Regions from separate parts of the Homo sapiens genome. Here region 2 is linked to region 1. The links are contacts of gene promoters, found by promoter capture Hi-C in blood cells and fetal thymus (Javierre and others, 2016). All regions are on one chromosome and are shown on one strand. The core of a region is centred on a gene start or on the middle of the fragment in contact, and the rest is flanking DNA. Distances in the headings are between cores, read along the strand shown. Region 1 holds the start of YAF2 (YY1 associated factor 2). Region 2 overlaps PDZRN4 (PDZ domain containing ring finger 4).

The links. The method cuts DNA at HindIII sites, captures the fragments that hold promoters and counts their contacts. A CHiCAGO score of 5 or more calls a contact.
Region 2: a fragment that was not itself captured here is called in contact with the fragment with the promoter of YAF2 in region 1 in 1 of 17 cell types (monocytes); the score reaches 6.8 in monocytes.

Annotation. Positions count from the first base shown.
Region 1 is chr12:42,235,057-42,239,797 of GRCh38, forward strand. It overlaps YAF2 (YY1 associated factor 2), which reads right to left and starts at 3,192. Exons shown (of 4, transcript NM_005748.6): 1 at 3,099-3,192; 2 at 2,543-2,668. The coding sequence starts at 3,124. LOC124902920 (a long non-coding RNA gene) reads left to right here and starts at 3,389. Exons shown (of 2, transcript XR_007063279.1): 1 at 3,389-3,671; 2 at 4,081-4,222. RefSeq lists silencers at 2,318-2,647, 2,768-2,837, 2,938-3,317, 3,368-3,607, 3,798-3,937 and an enhancer at 2,483-2,984. The HindIII fragment of the contact is 7,822 bases long and covers 1,868-4,741 here.
Region 2 is chr12:41,268,999-41,273,975 of GRCh38, forward strand. All of the region lies in intron 3 of PDZRN4 (PDZ domain containing ring finger 4), which reads left to right. Among named protein-coding and RNA genes, the nearest start is that of PDZRN4, 83 kb to the left of the region's middle. The HindIII fragment of the contact is 942 bases long and covers 2,795-3,736 here.

The DNA of each region.
Region 1 (4,741 bases), core at 1,942-4,441:
AAAGAAAAAAGTTTTTCAAATGTCTAGAATGGCTTAGACTTGGCCTAACATTTGGCAATGAGGCAGAATCAGTTCAAAGGTCAGTCTGACCCAAAGGATTCAAATCCCATCTGTGCGTCACACAAACAAATCATTAGCAAACTGCATCCTTCTGCTCTGCAGCTATCCAGTCTTGGCTTTAGTACTTGCCAACCTTACTCTGGAAATTACCCTGTTCATTAATAAGTCAATTATGGAGAATTATTTCTTCCAACTACTGAAACTTTTGCTTCTCAACACCGTTCTGCAGTCCTTTAATCTTGTTTTTTTAACATTACCAGAGAGGAAAAATATTAATATTCTGTGATGCAATCAATATCTTCTCTAGTAACAATACCCTGTTCCACACTGTTCTATACAAACACAGATTCTACCCTGAATTTCAGAAACCACTAGGAAAATAACAGATAACAGAGAAATTAGAGCTCTTAGGTTTAACTTAGAGCCAAAATCAAAAGAGAAGAGAATTCAGAGAGAGGAAGGAAGAAGCTGAGAGGGTCGTGGTGTAGAACACTTACTTTCAGGAACACAGTGTCCCTTAGATTTCTGGTGAGTTGCCCAGAGCCTCTTCAGTTTCAATCCAAATGACAATGCTTCTCTGAGTCCTCCTCAAGTAATGTTTCCACCACTAAAAATTGGATCTACAAGAGCTTAGATGTACTGGTAAAAAAAAAAAATGTCAGGGGCCCCCATGTGGGCCTCAAGCCTCTTTTAAACTAGGCCCACTTCTCTGTCCTGGGCCAACTCCCCTGTGTACTATATTCCTTCTTCTTCCAGGTGCCAGGTATTCAGCCTGTTTCTTCTCTTCTGAGCTGCCACCACCTACTCTATTTCTCAGGGTTCCTCTAACCCCAAGACTGGCTGTGGAGTAGGACACCAGCTTCCCCCCTTCCTTGCTGTCCCTGCAAATAAACATATAGGCTCTTCTAGTTTCAGTATTTTTCTAATGGCTACAAGAAAATAGAGAGGGAACAACAAAAAGCAATAATATATAGTACCAGAGATCAAGATTATAATTGTTTCCACTTTAATGTTCCTGCCTCCAAAAAACGAATTTTCTAAAAATTGCTTATTGAGCATTTTAAAAAGCACAAAGTACTAACACAGATACACAAATATACTCTAAACCAACTCCAACCTTACACAGCCAAGAAGATACTCTGCTTTTCAAAATACTTAAATCACAAATCACGGGTCCAAAAATAGTAACCACAATCATTTTAGCAAATACTTTTTTTCTTTTTGGAATGTTCTGTTGTAATCCCTTAAATTTAGCATACGTTTGAAAGTTTGCTTTTTGAATATGAAAAATGTACGAAATATTTTATCAATTGTGGGAATATACAAAAAGCATATGATGATTTACAAAAAACAAGCATGTCAAAACCAGCGAGCTTCACTGAGAAATTTTTCAGATAAGTTACTGTCAACCATTCCTGTCTCTAAATTTTAAACTTAATAAAATTCTGTAAAGTGTTTTTTAAAAAATCAAGATCTCATTTTTTAGAAATCTAACGTCTACTGAATATTTGTATATGTCAATATTACATGTGCCTTCTTTTTTAAAGCAACAGTAAGATTAGTATGCTTATTGTTATAGTTTAGTTTCTAATGGACTTTGTAATATCAAAATACATATCTTCTCTAAATATTAAGTAATAAATCACAGGATTATATTTAATTCAAAGGGTACCTTCGTATAAGAATCAAGGAGCTCGATAACTAAGTGCTGACAGATTAAGAATGCCACTGACTGAATTTCCTGGATGATTTTCTTTATTCACTTAATTCAAAGTCATTTTTTAAAAGACAGAGTTATTATACTGCAAGCTTACAATAAATAAAGTCTGAAAATAGGCAGAGATCTTTTCATCTCATTTGTCTAAGAGACTGCCATTTAATCAAACTAAAGATATAAAGGTACTTTCAGTAAAAATCTGTTCCTGTGACTGGGCTCATCTCCAACTACTTATTTATAAAATATTAGAGTACTGGAATAAAAACACTAAATAAAACCTTGATCTGACCCTTCCAGAAGTACATGTAGAAAAATAAGTTTTAATATATTGTGTATTCTGCAATCAGATACTTTTCTTTCTTTAGGAACGAAATTAAATTACATCCTTTGCTCCTAAAGAGATTTTATGGGTTTTCCTTGATCCCCACACACTAACACAACAATGCAGCCAACATTTTTATACCCAGAATGGGGAGAGGGGCATTACACCCAGCGATACGAATTAAATCGCAGTAGCTAATGCCTCCCTTAAATAATTTATTCTCTCTTGGCAGCAAAAAACGTTACAGCCTCTTCAATTACCCCTCACCGCAAACCATCGCCTGGGTTGCGATCAATGTGACCCAGTTCCTATCGCCACAGCCACCTCCGTCTGCCTCCTCCCGCCGGGTCCGCCAGTGTCATGGGAGGGGGCGGCAGCCGCAAGGGCGTCCTCTGGTCGCCACCCCGCCGGCCGGCGGCGCGAGGGGCAGGCCCGGGACTCACCGGGTGGAGGTGCCCTTCCGCACATCGCACATCATGCACTTGAAGGCCTCGGCGCTGTTCCGGAAGGTGCAGACGCTACAGTCCCAGTAACCCTCATCCGAGGACGGCTTCGGCTGCCGCTTCGGCCTGCAGGACACAACCCGGACACGACGCGGCGCGGGGTCACCAGCAGGCCGCGCCCGGTGCCCGGGCCCCGCGGCCGCCCCCGCCCCGCCCCCCGCCCCAATTCTGCGACCCCCGCCCCGCGGGCCCTCGGCGCGCCGCGCTCCGGCTGAGGGGGAAGGGAGTCAGGAAGAGGCAGGGCGCGAGCGCGGCCGCAGTCGCCGCCGCCACAGCCGCTCTGACACCCGGGCGGCCGCTCCGGTCGCCGCCGCCATCGCGGCTCCATTGTGGGGCGGCCGGCGCCGGCCCCCTCAAGCGGCAGCACTCGCACACCAGCGGCGCTGCCCCCGTGCTCGCCCCGGTGCCCGGGCGGCTAGCGAGGCGGCCACCCGAAGCCCTGCACGAGGGCCCTGCCGCCCGCACAGTCCGGGCCCCGGGGCCCGGGCGCTGTTACCTGGTGGGGCTCTTCTTGTCTCCCATGGCTTGGCTATCACCGCACGCCGAGAGTCGCCGCCGCGACCGCTCTGTTTGTCAATAAGGAGGATAATAAGCCGGGCGGAAGCGGGCGGGGGAGGAGGGAGGGAGGGGGCGGGGAAGGCCGCACCGCCGCGCTCGGGAGCCGCCGCCGGATCCCACGCAGCCTCCAGCTGTCGGGGAAACTCCTGCCTGGGCGCACGTGACCCTCGCCGGCCAACCAGCAGCCGCGCCGGAGACTTCAAACGCGGCCAGCGCGGCCCAGCACCCGCGGCGAGTTAGCCGGCGGGCGGTGCGGGGGTGGCCGCGGTGGCCGCGGCTGCCTCGGGCGCCGGCGCCGCCTCTCCGCGCTGTTCCCCCGTTGCCCCCTTGGTACCCCCGGCTGCCGGGGACTGCCTCGCGCTCCAGAGCCCCTCTGAGGAGGAAAACGTCTGTCCCACCGACTGGCAGGGGATGCTCCGTCATCCCGTGCGAAGCCTGGTCCAAGGTAGGGCCGGCCGGCGTTCGGAGGCCTGTCCAGGTCTGGACAGAAGTGCCAGCCCGGGATCTCCAGGTAGAACGACTTTCCTGGCCTCCGCTGTCCTTAGCTACCCAGCCCCCGCCTGCAGTATACCGGGGGGAAGGCGGGAACCAACACGCAGCGCCATTGCTACATGCCTTAAAGCACTGTCTGGTTTATGCACACAGATGCTCTAACAAGTAGGGATTGTCAACCCTAACTTAGAGGAATTGAAATCAAGACTCAAGAGAGATTAGGTGACTTCCTCTAGGCTATATAATTAGAAAATGACAAAGCCAAGAGTCTAACTCTGTTTTAATTCCAAACGCGCCCTTTTGGCCTCTCAGGCCTCTGCAGTAGCTGCTTTTGAAAGAAACCCCTATATACTCATAAGTCCTTTTTAAATATAAGGAGTTTGCATGTCCCCTCAACGCTGTCTGCTAACAAAAGAACACCTTCCCAGGTCTCTACGTCAACATACTAAAGGTCCTCATACTCCAGACTCCAGCAACAGCCATCTAACTGGTCTCCGAAGCTCCACTTCTACCTCCCCAATGTATTCAGTAATCCACAACCAGATTAATAATAAAATGCTGTTAATACTATGCCACCACTCTGATAAAGAACCACTAACGACTTGCCCACACTCCTTAGCCTGGCATTCAAAGGCTTCACACATTTTCCCTACCTCTGCCTCCCTCTCCCATAAGGAAAGCTGCCTCCTGACAAAGAGTGCAGATGAAATTCATTCCCTTACCAGAACCCTTCCTTCATGCACATGGGTTACTTCTGCATAAAGTATATCCCTCTTTAACTGTGCTGTTTCTGTCCATCTTTCTAGGTTTACATCAAGTCCGAATTCATGTAAAATAATTTTATAGCTAAACTACATAGGAAATAATACAGTCAGAAGCCCAGGATTCTCAGCCTGCTTCTCCTGTTTCTTAGCTGATAGACCTTGGAAGTATTGCTTAATTTCTGTAATTCTCAACGTTTTCATATTCTGAATTGCATCTATATGAGATTGTTGTGCGATTAATAATAACATTTTTTGGCCGGTTGCGGTCGCTCACGCATGTAATCCCAGCACTTTGGGAGGCCGAGGCGGGCGGATCACCTGAGGT
Region 2 (4,977 bases), core at 2,016-4,515, 970 kb before region 1:
TGTCTGCTTCACCTAGCTCCTGCCTTGAGCTTGGAGAGCAAACAAGGATATTTAGGTTTAGCCTAGAGCAACGTAAAAGGAAATGGAATAAAATCTTCTCCAGATCTCTGTGCAGCTAGGGTCCTACAGCAAACAGAATTGAGGTTATAATGGTTCTGAAGCTAAGAACAGTACTGCTAGTGTCCATGAAAATGGAAAGCACCTATAAAAATGATTGACACTTTCTATAAAGTAGACTTTCACTGTCAATCATCTAAATATGATTCATTAATCATACTATAAGCATTTGACAGCTGACTGACAATAACAAATTCTCCCTAGAGAAAGCTATATAGAAATTTGAGAGCAGCTTATAATTGTTGATACTATTTAAGCTGGATGTTATGTATCATACAAGAAGCAGATAGCTTCTTGCAGCCCAACATAATTGATTCCAACAGAACCTTGTTACCACAGTCAGCATTTCATGGCTTCTGATGCATTCCCAATTACAAGGAAAAAAAAGGGAGAGAAAACAACACTTCTGATCTAAACTAAATAAATTGTTCAAAACAGACTTTTTGTAGAAAATAATTTTCAAATTCTTTCAGCAATTTGAGAGCCTTAATATTACAGGGCATAAAGACATGGCCAGGCCTGGCGTCAGTTTCTCCATGTTTCTAACACAGCCTGCCCAGGGTTCAAGACTCTATATGCCATATTTTGAAGTTTTCCACTGTATCAGACTGTGTTGTTTCTTGAGGTATTCCAAAGAAAGATGAAAAGCCAAACTTTAAATAAAGCACAAGATGGAAAGTTTAAGGATGTAATAATAAAGACTTGCTATGCACAGACCTGTGGGTTATCCTTGGGGAAGAAATAAAGTCAACACCAGGTTTTAAACCATAATAAGCATTCTGATACACACACACGATATTGCTAAAATATTTCTATAAAGTCAATTAAATGCCATATAAGATGAAATGTCTCTCCCCCTACCTCTCTCTTTTGCTTTGTCTGTCTCTCTCTGGTTTTTTGAATAAATTCTAATGGGTCATTGTGGTAAAGTGGACTGAGTTAGTAGTCATATAAACCTGGATTTGACTTTAATTTCACGTTTGCCCATTTAACAGCTATGGCTGAGTCAGTTACTCATTTCTAAAGCAGTGATAATTATTTTCCCATCACCACATGTTATAAATTAAATGCGCTAATAGATGTAACAATAGATTTTACTCAATTAACTCTGCAATTATCTGGGATAATTTTTGGATCGTAACTATTGTGTGTGTGTGTGTCTGTGTGTGTGGTGTGTGTGTGTGTCTGTGTGTGTGGTGTGTGTGTGTGTCTGTGTGTGTGTGTGTGTGTGTATTTAGAATTAGATTGTTAATGCATGTAACCTGGCCATAATTTAAGCAACTTATAGAAATAAAGATTAATGAATTTAGAGAAAATTGAATTCTATCACTTAATAGTAAGGGGAACTAAGTCATAAAACGCATAGATGGCTTGTGTAACAAAAGGCTTATTTCTTTAAAAAAATCATGTTTATAGAACTTTGGCTTTCTCAAAATTTCCACTTGCTTTCAGTGAAGATACAAAATTGGAATCTTTATTCCATCTTATCTTCACTGCAGTCAGAATTCACCATTTTAAACTAACTGATTAATCATACAATAAATGTACTTACTTTTGTAGTAACTATTTCTTGATATTTTTATATCCTAACAGGATAGAGATGCAGCCAGTTGGAAGAAATGATGCAGATTACATGCAAAATTTATTCATTCTTTTATTAATTTGTTAGTTACGTAGAAATCTCAAAATAATTATTGTGTGTATACCATCATGAGAGTGTTAAAAACTCAGTATATGTAGTGGGGAAGTAATATTTTAATGAGAAGTGCTCTTTCCTAAACTGATTTAGTGAAAAATTTGTTTAAAAATAATACAGTATAGTAAAGTTGATTATTAAAATGTCAAAACTTAATTTTTACACAATGAAATTTTATTTTCTAAATCTGAAATATAGTCTTCGTAGCATCACATATATGACTAATTCTACTTGACTTATATAATTTGCTTTTATATTATTTTTCATTTTGTGTTTTATATTATCTAAACCTCAATGTATATAAATATTCTTATCTCATCAGCTTAAAACAATATAGCTATTATTTTTTCTTGAATGACTGTATCTAGAGATTTTAAAAAAACTAATTTAATAAATCCACTCCTCCAACACAAAGCACAAAATAGAGACAGGATACATTAAATATCTTCCAAGTTTATTGTTTTATGAATAGCTGATTCTCATTACACTTAGCTACTTTCCCTTAGGTACAAAAAATATGGGTCAAGTCCTATTTTCATGGCCCTATTAAATCACAACTGCAGGTACCATTTTTAAGCATCTATAGCATTGTTTTAAAGGTATCTTTCACATGAAGGTAGTTTGAAAAGTCGTTCTTCCCTGGGTTTTGCATAATTATTTTCTCTTATTCCAAAACTCAGAATTTTTGGTCTAGTCTGTTTTAACCACCTTGAATCTTGCCAATTAAAATGCTAGCCTCCTGGCCCTAACTTCCTTTCCCTTGTTCCTAGCAAGCATCTGTTCTTCCACATTCTTGTATAGTTTAACTCAAAATGCCAATCAGTGATGATTGATCACATTTTTCACACAACAGCCTGGACCCGGATTCTGCACTCCACATGCATTTGCCGTTTTGATTAATGAACATAAATCAGCGGTGACAATTCACATTTGCAAGTGGATGGAAAGAATTATTAGAAATGCAGCACATTAGTAAGCAAAAGCTTCCCTTCATTCTATTACAATTGCATTGAAAACAAATACACTCCCCTCAGAGGACTTTGTGGTTATCATTAGGGAATATCTGAAATATGGAAATAAAACACATGCTGCCAGGCCTGTTTTCATTATTTTGATCTCATAAAAGATCTTTATATTTCAATACTGCACAGACAACAAATGATTTTGCAACATCATTTCTATGTTTATATAAGCCTCTACTATATAGAATATCTCAAAAAGCAATTCCTTTCTCTACCAAATAGAGTATTTTTTTTTTTGGAATGAAAGAATGGCAAAAAAAATTTAACTTGTTTCCTTAATTCACATAAACAATAAAAATCAAAGATTTTGTCTATGTCCATTCAATGAATTACTTACTTTTTTCCCTCCACTAATATTTACTTTAAGAACATAAAATTCATAAATAAATAACCTCTTCTGGTTTTAAAGCCAAAGTGCCAATGATATGTGGTGAATCAGCCTAAAGTCAACTGGTAAAAATATTGTTTTCTTTGGTTATGAAAATTTCTAACTCAGTTGAGACATACAGATCAGGATCTTCAAATAAAATATTCTTAAATGGAATATGTATGAAATATACTTCACAGACCAAATATATTGATCCTAAAGTGACCTGTTTGACTTATTAATTTTAAAGCATCATTACTATAATGGCCCATTTATTGTATTAAATGAGTATTAAATCTTTGCAGCTACTTAAGACTGCTTTTAAGGGTCACGGATTTAATTGCCTCAATAAATATATACCTATACTATCAGTTATTTCTAACTTCTCAGGAGGCAAAGGCACTGGTGTGTTTAGTAAGTATAATTGACTCTTTTAGTAAGAAATGGATACACTTTTAAAGCACATGTATCAAGACTGCCAGAAAAAAATTTAAAACTTTATCGGCAGTTCAAAAGTTATAAAAATATTTGCCAAGCTTGAAAAACATTTCTATCTTTATTTTATAATAACATATTTACTTAGAAAGTGCTTTGTTTTCTTTCCCCTTTGTGGCATCGAATTGTCAATTAAAGGCCTTTAGAGTGACCATGGGATGAGTTGGTTAAGTTGCTGTCCAGGTGGGAGAACAGCAAAATAGATGCTGTTGGTTGTAACTCTGAATTTCCAGAAGTCACATTGAAGTCCTAATAATCAAAATATTTAGGAGGAAATTGAATTCTGCAATCAATGAGAACTATAGTCTTGGCAGTTCCTAAAAGGCGCATTTCCTTGTTGTTTTGCTTAAGCTTGTCTGGGCTTCATTTAGTAGTCTGCTTATGTTAAATTTAAGCAATCATGGGTATGGAAAATGAATAAAGTGTTGACTATCCATTTGGATCAATTTTATTCATTCAAAAATGTACATTTTAATAAAGTAATGTTAGGCACTATGGATAGAAATATCAAAGAGGCTCAGTTTCTTCTTCCAAAGTGTTCCTAAAGAAGGAAATAGACATAGAAGGAAAGCAAGTTATAATCCAGTTTCATAAGTACAGTAATGGAAGATTGCATAAGACAGTATGCTGGCAAGCGCAAGAATGATCAAACCTGGTTGTGGAGAGTGTCATGAAAGTCATTATAACCAAATCTGAAAATGCAGTTCCCCAGACGCTTAAAGAAGAAAAATGTATTCTGAAAAGAAGAAACAGTGAATTCAGGACAGAGAATGAAACAGTATAGCGTGATAGAAACTACAAGTAGCCTTAACTGTAACTTACATATAGGGCATCTCCCAGAGATGGGGGAAGTGATAAAGGGTGAAGCTAGTAAGGAACTTGTATGCTTGGAAGTTTTGACACTACTCTATAAATGATGTAGAAACCAATAAATGAAGTGTTTCATTAAAGAAAAAGTATATTCAGTCAGAAATTAGCAATTTTAGGAATTTTTATAATACCTAAAAAATGACTGAACATAAAATCTTATTTTTAATTGATAAAATATGTTTTCAGGTTTACCTGCAAAAACTATGGTTGATTTGCAAACATGTCTTATTATAGTAGAAAATTACCAAATGTATGCTATTTATCATTAAATTTACCTTCATGGCAGCAGATGCCAAAGAACTAGTTCAGCAATTATGCCTTAATGTCATCCCATTATCATTTATCATTTTTCTTAATGCATCAAGATCTAAAGTCCTTGAATGCAAGCTTGGTCAGCAACCATAGAAATA